2 separate regions of the Homo sapiens genome follow, and region 2 is linked to region 1. The links are contacts of gene promoters, found by promoter capture Hi-C in human tissues and cell types (Jung and others, 2019). All regions are on one chromosome and are shown on one strand. Each heading gives the region's core, a stretch centred on a gene start or on the middle of the fragment in contact. The rest is flanking DNA. Distances are from core to core; before and after follow the strand shown.

Region 1 (4,542 bases), core at 350-2,849:
ATGCAGGCTCTGGCTGGGGGCGGCGGGCGCAAGCGGGCGCACCCGCAGCTAGGGGTGCGGGGTGCACGCACACGCACGCTCATTAAGAGCCATGTATTTATTGAATGTCCGAGTTGGGTTAGTTCATTGGAAATCCCCGAGGAGGGCTCAATTTGCCCTTGTTTTCGTTGCCACTTTCTCTTTTTTCTTGGTTCGCTGAGGTTCCTCTGTGCAGCGTTTCCGCTTGGCCGCGTCCCCCCACCCCACCCCACCCCACCCCCGCTTCTCTCGCCTACCGGGTGCACTCCCCCTCCCATCCCCCTTAACTCTTTCAGCTGGGTTAGAGCTGAGAAAGCATTTGTCGCCGCCAGCCCCATCCACCACGCAAATCCATCTGAGACAGAAAGGAAAGAAAAAAAAGCACCACCATGCCTAAGAATAGAGAGCGAGCAAACCCCCCCACCGCTAATCACACACACACACACACACACACACACACACACACACGAGGAAGCGGTGGAGCAGAGAAGGGCGCGGCTAGCCGATCCCGGTTCTTTCGCCCGGCTCCTGCTGCCACAGGGAATTCCTAAAGCCATTGGGGTCGAATACACTTACGATGAATCTATGGGGGAAGGTCGGACTGATTGCTTTTCAAATACATCGCACGGCTCCGCTGACCGGCACCCTCCAAACTCACAAGGGCACGCACGCTACTTGCACGAATCCCAGAGGAGGGAGGAGGGAGGAAGGGAGGGAGAGCGAAGGAGGGAGAGAGGGGGTGGAGGAGCCAGGGAGCGGCGGCAGCGAGCGGTCCGTCTCGCACGCGCGGGCACCGCGCTGGTCCTGGGCTGCAGGTTTCCCAGATGATGGCATCCGAGAACTTAAACAAAGGGGGCTGCCGCCGGCGCGCAACGGCTGCGGAAAGTTGCGGTGGCGGATTTCCAAGGAGCGTGGCCACGACCAGAGCTCTTGGCGATGCGAGCCCCCGCTTCCCACCCCCGCCGATCAGAGAAGGGGGCCGGCTGGTGAAGGGAAGAGGAAACTTTGAAACCACTGGGGACACATCTGTCTATAGGTATTAGCTTGAATGGTACATCCGTGCCGCGCGCTTTACAAATCTCTGGCGGGGCGGGGGTAAGGGGGTGAGCAACCCGACGCGTACTAGGTGGGGTGGGCAGGTTGCTATTTTTCATGTTTCCCCCTTCGTTTTCCTTCTGATTCTCTTCCCCCCTCTCGTCCCTCCCTCCCTTTTATCTCCCCTTTCTTCCCCCCGCCCAGACCTATTGCGAACGCCCAGAGCCGCCGAGGGAACGCCAACGTCTGGGCCGGACACTAAGAGTTAAGATGTGGCGGAGGGGGCGGCGGGGGAGGGGCGGGGAGGGGAAAGTGGTGAGGGGGAGGGAGGCTGGAGGACGACAGATTTCCAGCTTCTACGACGCTCTGCCTAAATTAAAAAGCAACCAATCGGAACGGCCGGAAGGGGGGCCTCGCGTCCTGAGCCAGTCATTCCGAGCCTGCCAATCACCCAGCGGGTAGCCAATCAGCGGGGGCCCTGGTGCTCGACTTCCTTGTATTTGGGAAAGTGTGGTGGTGGGTGCGCGCTCGCGGCGGAGGGTAAACATTCGACAGTCCCCGCTCTGAGAGGGAGGGACAGAGAGCGAACTGTCAGATCGGAGCGAGAGCGGGCGCCCGAGAGAGGGAGAGAGAGAGAGGGAGGGAGAGGAAAAGTGAGAGAGGGAAAGAGAGCGCGAACGAGGGCGCAGAGCGAGCTCCTGCTGCAACTCTGCTCCAGCACGGCCAGCGCCAGCGCCCGCCGTCGGTGCACTCTACGAGCCGTGCAGCGTGCCCACTGGAGTTGTTGTGTATCAAGGATCGATCCCCTATATGCACACACACACCTCCACCTCCACCAATGCACTCTTCTTCCTCCTCCTTCTCCAGACAACTGCTGGGAAAAAAATAAAACACCAACCCCAACCGTCAGCAACAAGGTAACAGAGCGATTCGACATCATTTTTTTTCCTGTTCAATTTTTTCCTTGTTATATTTGTTTCCTAATTTCTGCCCAAAAGGAAAGATGTCGCATCAGACTGTGACTGTTGCGAGGAGAATGAAAAAGGACTCTTGTTTCAGAGGCAACCAAGAGCTCCGGCAATAGCAACTTCAGAGAAATGCACCATCGCAAGAAGTTTTCCTAGGACAGAACAAAACTTGAAACGAGAGGACCAGAGGGGGAGAGCAGGAGCCAGCCTCCCCTCTCCGCACTCGCGAGCAGCCAGCAGCACCACGCCTTCAAGGACGAAAAAGTTTTACTACTCTAAGGGAAAACGAGTGAAATGTGTTCCTGAGGAGGAGAGGAGAGGAGAGGAGAGAGCGGACAAGAGAAGGAGCGGGCCGGTTGCTGGTCATCCGTAATTTGGCTAAGGAAGAAAGGAGCAGCTTCTTTCTTTGTTATCTCCCGTGAAACCTTCACTTAGCAGGTGGACGGAGCCCCGCGACCGGGCAGAGTCCGGGCTCGCCCGAGGACAGGAGGAGGAGCGGGAGCCCGCGCGTCCCGGGAGAGCGCCCCGAGTGCAGGTCCCCGCCCCGCCCGGCGAGCCCCGCTGGAGCGAGCCCAGCGCGCCGGGGCTGGGGGGCGGCCACGACCCCCCCTGAAGGGGGTGGCCACGGAGCGCACCCCGAGAAGCGAGCCCCCCTCCCCAGAGCGCTGCTCCTGCGGCTGCTGCTGCTGCTGGTGACCAAGGCCGGCCGGCGACCCCCGCGCCCTGCCGAGCGGCCTTGCAGCTGCAGCCGGGGGCCGCGGCGGCGGCGGCGGCGGCGGGGGCGGAGGCGGCGGCGGAGGAGGAGGCGGCGAAGGCGGCGGGGCCGGCGGGGGCCCGGGGCGGGGGCGGGGAAGGAGGGGGGGAGGAGGCGGGAGGCGGGGGGCGCGGCGGCGGCGGCGGCGGCGGCGGCCGCGGCTGCTGCTGCGGCGGCGGCGGCGGTGGTGGCGGCGGTGGGGTGGCGGGAGCGGAGCGGCATGGCCACGGCGGCTTCTAACCCCTACCTGCCGGGGAACAGCCTGCTCGCGGCCGGCTCTATTGTGCACTCGGACGCGGCAGGGGCTGGCGGCGGCGGGGGTGGCGGCGGCGGCGGCGGCGGGGGCGGCGCAGGGGGCGGGGGCGGCGGCATGCAGCCGGGCAGCGCCGCCGTGACCTCGGGCGCCTACCGGGGGGACCCGTCCTCTGTCAAGATGGTCCAGAGCGACTTCATGCAGGGGGCCATGGCCGCCAGCAACGGCGGCCATATGCTGAGCCACGCGCACCAGTGGGTCACAGCCCTGCCCCACGCCGCCGCCGCCGCCGCCGCTGCCGCCGCCGCCGCCGTGGAGGCGAGCTCGCCGTGGTCGGGCAGCGCCGTGGGCATGGCTGGCAGCCCCCAGCAGCCACCGCAGCCGCCGCCGCCACCGCCGCAGGGCCCCGACGTGAAGGGCGGCGCCGGGCGCGACGACCTGCACGCGGGCACAGCGCTGCACCACCGCGGGCCGCCGCACCTCGGACCCCCGCCGCCGCCCCCACACCAGGGCCACCCTGGGGGCTGGGGGGCGGCCGCCGCTGCCGCAGCCGCAGCCGCCGCCGCCGCCGCCGCCGCGCACCTCCCGTCCATGGCCGGGGGCCAGCAGCCGCCGCCGCAGAGTCTGCTCTACTCGCAGCCCGGAGGCTTCACGGTGAACGGCATGCTGAGCGCGCCACCGGGGCCCGGCGGCGGCGGCGGCGGCGCGGGCGGTGGAGCCCAGAGCTTGGTGCACCCGGGGCTGGTGCGCGGGGACACGCCAGAGCTGGCCGAGCACCACCACCACCACCACCACCACGCGCATCCTCACCCGCCGCACCCGCACCACGCGCAGGGACCCCCGCACCACGGCGGCGGCGGCGGCGGCGCGGGGCCTGGACTCAACAGCCACGACCCGCACTCGGACGAGGACACGCCGACGTCGGACGACCTGGAGCAGTTCGCCAAGCAGTTCAAGCAGCGGCGCATCAAGCTGGGCTTCACGCAGGCCGACGTGGGGTTGGCGCTGGGCACACTCTACGGCAACGTGTTCTCGCAGACCACCATCTGCCGCTTCGAGGCCCTGCAGCTGAGCTTCAAGAACATGTGCAAGCTCAAGCCGCTGCTGAACAAGTGGCTGGAGGAGGCGGACTCAAGCACCGGCAGCCCCACAAGCATCGACAAGATCGCGGCGCAGGGCCGCAAGCGCAAGAAGCGGACCTCTATCGAGGTGAGCGTCAAGGGCGCGCTGGAGAGCCACTTCCTCAAGTGCCCCAAGCCCTCCGCGCAGGAGATCACCAACCTGGCCGACAGCCTGCAGCTCGAGAAGGAGGTGGTGCGGGTCTGGTTCTGCAATCGGCGCCAAAAGGAGAAGCGCATGACGCCGCCCGGGATCCAACAGCAGACGCCCGACGACGTCTACTCGCAGGTGGGCACCGTGAGCGCCGACACGCCGCCGCCTCACCACGGGCTGCAGACGAGCGTTCAGTGAAGCCAGGGCGCAGAGCGAAGAGGGCCGCCGCCGCCGCCGCCTCC
Region 2 (4,815 bases), core at 2,076-4,575, 81 kb after region 1:
CTAAGATTTTTACAAGCCAAAGGCCCTCTGAAGGTGGAAGGACTAGATTTAAATTGAGATTAATTTGGAGAGTTTCTAGAAATATCACAAAATGAATAATATAGATTGTCATCAGATAAACAAGTCCCAAGTTCGATTAAATATTTTTTTATTTCACGAAGGTTATTTAACCAATGCTTACCAGTGCTTTACTAGAGTTTTTACTTAAATGAAAACCTTAGAAAGTTGTTTGGGAATGAGGTGGAAGAGACTCCGGGGTGACCAAATGACAAGTAAAGTTCCCAGGCCAGAATGAACAAATCTAGAGTGAAAGGAAGCTGAGATTGGTGAGAAGACACAGTGTCTGTCTGAACTAGTGAAAAACAAGGCAGGAAGTTCCAGGAGGAGAAGGGATGGAGGAGGGAGAAACTTGTAAAAGCAGGCAAAATTGTTCCAACAGGCCATAGGGCACTAGGTGTCTCACTGGCATTTTCACGTTGTGATTACTCTCACTTTCCGTATCTTCTTGCTTACATCACTTAAATCCAGTCACCCAAACCAAAGATTAGTAAAAACGAGACATATGATAATATTCGTAATAGGTGTTTAGCCTCTGCCTACAGAACCTCAAAGCACATTAATTTAGAGGAAAATAAGCAGTTATCTGACCTATTTGGGGGTGGGGAACCCAAGCACTTATTTACATTTTTAATTTCCATTCCCCTATTAGTGAATGTTAGTGTGTTGTCTAAAACTGCAGTAATCCAGGGATGATCTGTCTTTGAACACGTAGGGAACCATTAAGGGAAACAGCACCTCAGTTATGGGAGTGGGACGAACTGACTGTGTTTCCAATTATTTACATGAACAAGATGCTGAACACGACCATATCTCCAACTGATGTGCTTTTATGTGTAGCTTTTCTGTCACTGGTGTTGCACATAGTGGGTACTAGGTAAATGATTTTGAATTAAAGAGATTAATTTGCCTGTTTCCAATATGATTTTTACCATATGAAAAAAAAAAAAACCCCAGCGACATATTCGTGAACCGAGAGAGTTAGCGGGTGAAAGCTTTACCTTTCAAGACACACGGAGAGCTAAGGCAGAGGTTTTGATTGCACGGGCAGCCCTAGATCAGCCCTTAGCTGGACTAAACACACTTCTAGATATTGTGTTTGTTGCTATTTTGTTGTAAGCAATAGGAGGTCCCTTTGGTAAAAGTTAAAGAATGATAAGCAAAACAATAAATAGATGTTGTTGGGACTTGGAGAATCTAATTTACAAGTACCCACTTAACGTCTTCAACTACAAAATTCAGATATCCACATTTATTTTTGTGATGGCCATGCAAAATTGTGTGGAAGGAGAGATGATTTACAATGTCAGAAAACAAGGCTGTTGCTAGAGAAATTTTCTTGGGGTTTCAAGATAGGTCACATACTATTTTGGCCATGAAACAAACAACATGTGTAAGGCCTGGCAGACATGAAGCAGCTGAAATAACGATCATACCAAACATAAATGAAAATGATCCATCCTGCATACACAACTCCAGTGCTTTCGGAGAAATGAGGGTTTTACTTCTTTTCCAGATACTGGAAAGTTTTACCCTAATAAAGTCCAGGGACAGTGTGATAGTGAATCAGGAGAATCGGGGGATGGAGGAATCCAAGTCCCCACACTCTCAGTGGATTTTGGGAAGAAAATTCAAGGGGAACTGTGGTGCTGTAAAAGGCATGCTGTCTTTCTGAAGAGGCGTTGTTTTGATCATTCCATAGGTAGACGCTGCTTTGAGCAATACTTTTGGCATTACTTTGAGTCATGCCAAACACGCTTTGCGTCCTTGATTAAGAATTGCACCTATACGCACATTCCTGGGCATGGTCTATTCTGTTTCATTATCATGCACCCAGCAACAGACCAACTTCTGCTGAACAATTAGGAGGTCATAGACCTGATCAGGAAGACTGTGGCCCCCACCTTCAGGAAGCTTACAATCTACTTAGAAACATAACACACACATACACCCATAAAGAGATCATAAACCTTAGCAGGGCGTGGCATGCCGCTGCAGTACCAGCTACTTGGGAGGCCAAGGCGGGGGGACAGCTTGAACCCAGGTGTTCGAGGCTGCTGCACTCTGCATCCAACCTGGGCAACAGAGTGAGACCCTGTCTCTAAAAAAGCTAACAATAAATAATAATAATTTTATAAAACTAAAAAGAGACCATAAACTCACTTTTTAGGTGGCCAAGCATTTCCACATAAGCAATGGAGAGTGCTCACTTTTCAGAGAGCCTCCAGAAAAGGGAGAAAGCTTTCTTCAGACCCAGTGGCCAGGGCGCTTTGCAATAGTGCAGAATTCGACACACAAAGATCGCTATTATGGATGGACAAGGAGCAGCCAAGAGAAGAAAAGGGGCAGATCTGTGACTCAAGCGGCAGCCCTTGCAATGGGAATAATCCTCATCCTCCACGTGTGCTGTGTGTGATACAGGCTTCCCAGGAAGGGCACTGGCCAAGCCCCTGCTCCACCGAAGGGGACTGTAGCTTTGCTTCACTCTCCCTCCCTGCTTAATCACTGGCTCAAATGACAATCCACCCCAGGCAAACGATGCTCACACAGAGAAAAGGACAGCCAGGCCAAGAACAAATTTTTCTAAAAGTTTTCTTTTTTTTTTTCTACATCATCTCAACCTTCCTTTTTAAATAAATGGACTTGCAAATAGACCTAACTTCAAAGATCTCATTGGTCGGCCTTCACTGTTTAGGTATCCGGGCAGGGAACCATTCAAGATATTATTCTTATTTTTTTTAAATCTTCTTTTTCTATCTTTTCAATAGCATCTGGATGATCTTTCCATTCTTGTCTAGTGATAATGAAATCATTAAAAAATGTACCAGAACCCTTTTTGCTTATCTCTGTGCCATTTGGAACATATGTGAATAAATTGAACACCACTTGCTCATTGATTTTCTTTTTTTTCCCTCTTCCCTTGTTTTTAAAAGCCCTGTTTGAAATCAGTCACTGAAAGAGCCGGCATCTGAGTTAACGTCTGACGATGGGAGGTACGCCTCAACGTCGTCCACATGGCCTTGATCTAGACAGCGAGCCACAACCTACCCAGCACATTTTTGTGGCTTAAGTGACCTGGAGTGTGGGGCTTTTCTTTGTTGAAGATTTTCTTTAGGTTTCAAGTTGATTTTACACCATTAATGGTAATTCCAGCTTGGGCATTGCACAAATAGTTCATAGATGACCATGGGGAATCCAGCTATGCTGTTGGGACTAGTAGCTAAACTCTCTTAGAGGGCTTGAGTTAGATCAAAGAGCATCTTTCCTTTTCTTGGAAACCACATTGCCAGCCTTTTCCAGCCAAAGGCCTGCTTGTGTTAAGTGAGAAGAGAGAGACTCATCCCAAAAGAGGCCGCCCTGGAAGAGATGGGAAAGACTTTTCCAGGAGGAGTTTGCTGAAAAGCATAAAAGGGTCAGCCTCCAGCTTATCACTCAAAAAAGTTTTTAAAGCCTTTTTAAGGAAACAATTTTAACCCAGCTGCACTTATTGATCAGTGATTTGATTTTGCTTTGTTAGGAGAGACTCGTAATCTGCTTTTAAATGTCTTTTGTTCCTGGCCTTCTTTGATAGCAAGTTCTGCCTAAGGCTACTTCTCAAAACTCATCACTGGAGTTTTCAAGTCTATGTGAATAACTAGAATAATTTTAATCTGGACCTTTCTTTATCCCCTACTACCTACCCACTCCTGTTTGCAGCAGAAAATGTTAGGTGGTTGTAAGAATTTTTTTTTAATCAAATTCTGCCAAACCTAAAACCTATAAAAAGGAATCATTTGTCCTTTCAAAGAGAGAGAGAAAGCAAGGGAGCAAACTCTATTTACAAAGTCAGAGGGAGTCAATCTGATTTTATTTTCTCAAGTACATTCAGTGAGTCTCAAAAAGAATGCAAGTTCTCAAGTCTTGCCTCTGCTTGGTATCAGCCACAATTAAAAAATAAATTTCAGAAATATATCTGAATCACTGTAGAACATAATTTTTTGGCAACAGATAGGTTTTATAGAAGCTTTTTTACTTGTAACTTTCAAAGGTTGTAATCATGCCTTTCATGACATTGTGAACTATAATTTTGTCTTGCTAAGCTACCATAAAAGAGTGGTTGTTTTATTATTATAGTATGCACTAAAAAACAGAACCTATGCTCCTCATTTAACTAATCACTTCTGATATTTCTCAAGCTAATGGGAACCAAAAACACTTATATCTGTTCGTAGATGTTCTTAATGAAATGCACACTTTTTTTATAATGTAAGCATATGCGTACACATGTATGAACTTTACAAGTTTATTTAGCAAGAAAACAAATATGTGAGGAAAACAGACTTTTCAAGTGGTGCTTTAATTGTCGTTCATGCATGTTCTACAGATCATTACTGAATGTTTACAGGTCCTGCACGGAATGACTTTACACCAAAGAAGAGGGTAACGTATCCTCACTGTTTATAAAAATGACAGCCCCTAATGGACCATATTAGCTTTAACACAAACTATTAAATCTCCTTCATTACTTTTTTCTGTGTTCTGTTTCGGCATCTCGTTAGCTCTGAGAAGTGGGTGCAAACTCCTAAGGAAACATGAGCACACATTGAGACGATTAGAGATCATGGTTATTAGATAAGCCTCAGGAGGATGTTTTTCTTGGGTTGCTCACAAGCATTTTGAAAGAGTCGTGTTCCAGGTTTGAGATCCCATGTTTCTTCCTCTTAAACTATGAGCAGCTGTAGCACATGACCTACTTCTGTAGGGCCCTGTAATGATTTC

What was found. Contacts are between HindIII fragments. The study calls those that stand out against the background at their distance.
Region 2: a contact is called between a fragment that was not itself captured here and the fragment with the promoter of POU3F3 in region 1, in 3 of the 25 tissues and cell types used here (neural progenitor cells, small bowel and thymus).

The regions. Positions count from the first base shown.
Region 1 is chr2:104,852,516-104,857,057 of GRCh38, forward strand. It overlaps POU3F3 (POU class 3 homeobox 3), which reads left to right and starts at 1,600. Exons shown (of 1, transcript NM_006236.3): 1 at 1,600-4,542. The coding sequence starts at 2,996. The coding sequence ends at 4,498. It also overlaps a transcript of PANTR1 not described here. RefSeq lists an enhancer at 1,204-1,793. The HindIII fragment of the contact is 12,067 bases long and covers 1-4,542 here.
Region 2 is chr2:104,931,916-104,936,730 of GRCh38, forward strand. MRPS9-AS2 (MRPS9 antisense RNA 2) reads right to left here. Exons shown (of 3, transcript NR_110603.1): 3 at 4,326-4,815. Among named protein-coding and RNA genes, the nearest start is that of DALIR, 27 kb to the left of the region's middle. The HindIII fragment of the contact is 5,964 bases long and covers 344-4,815 here.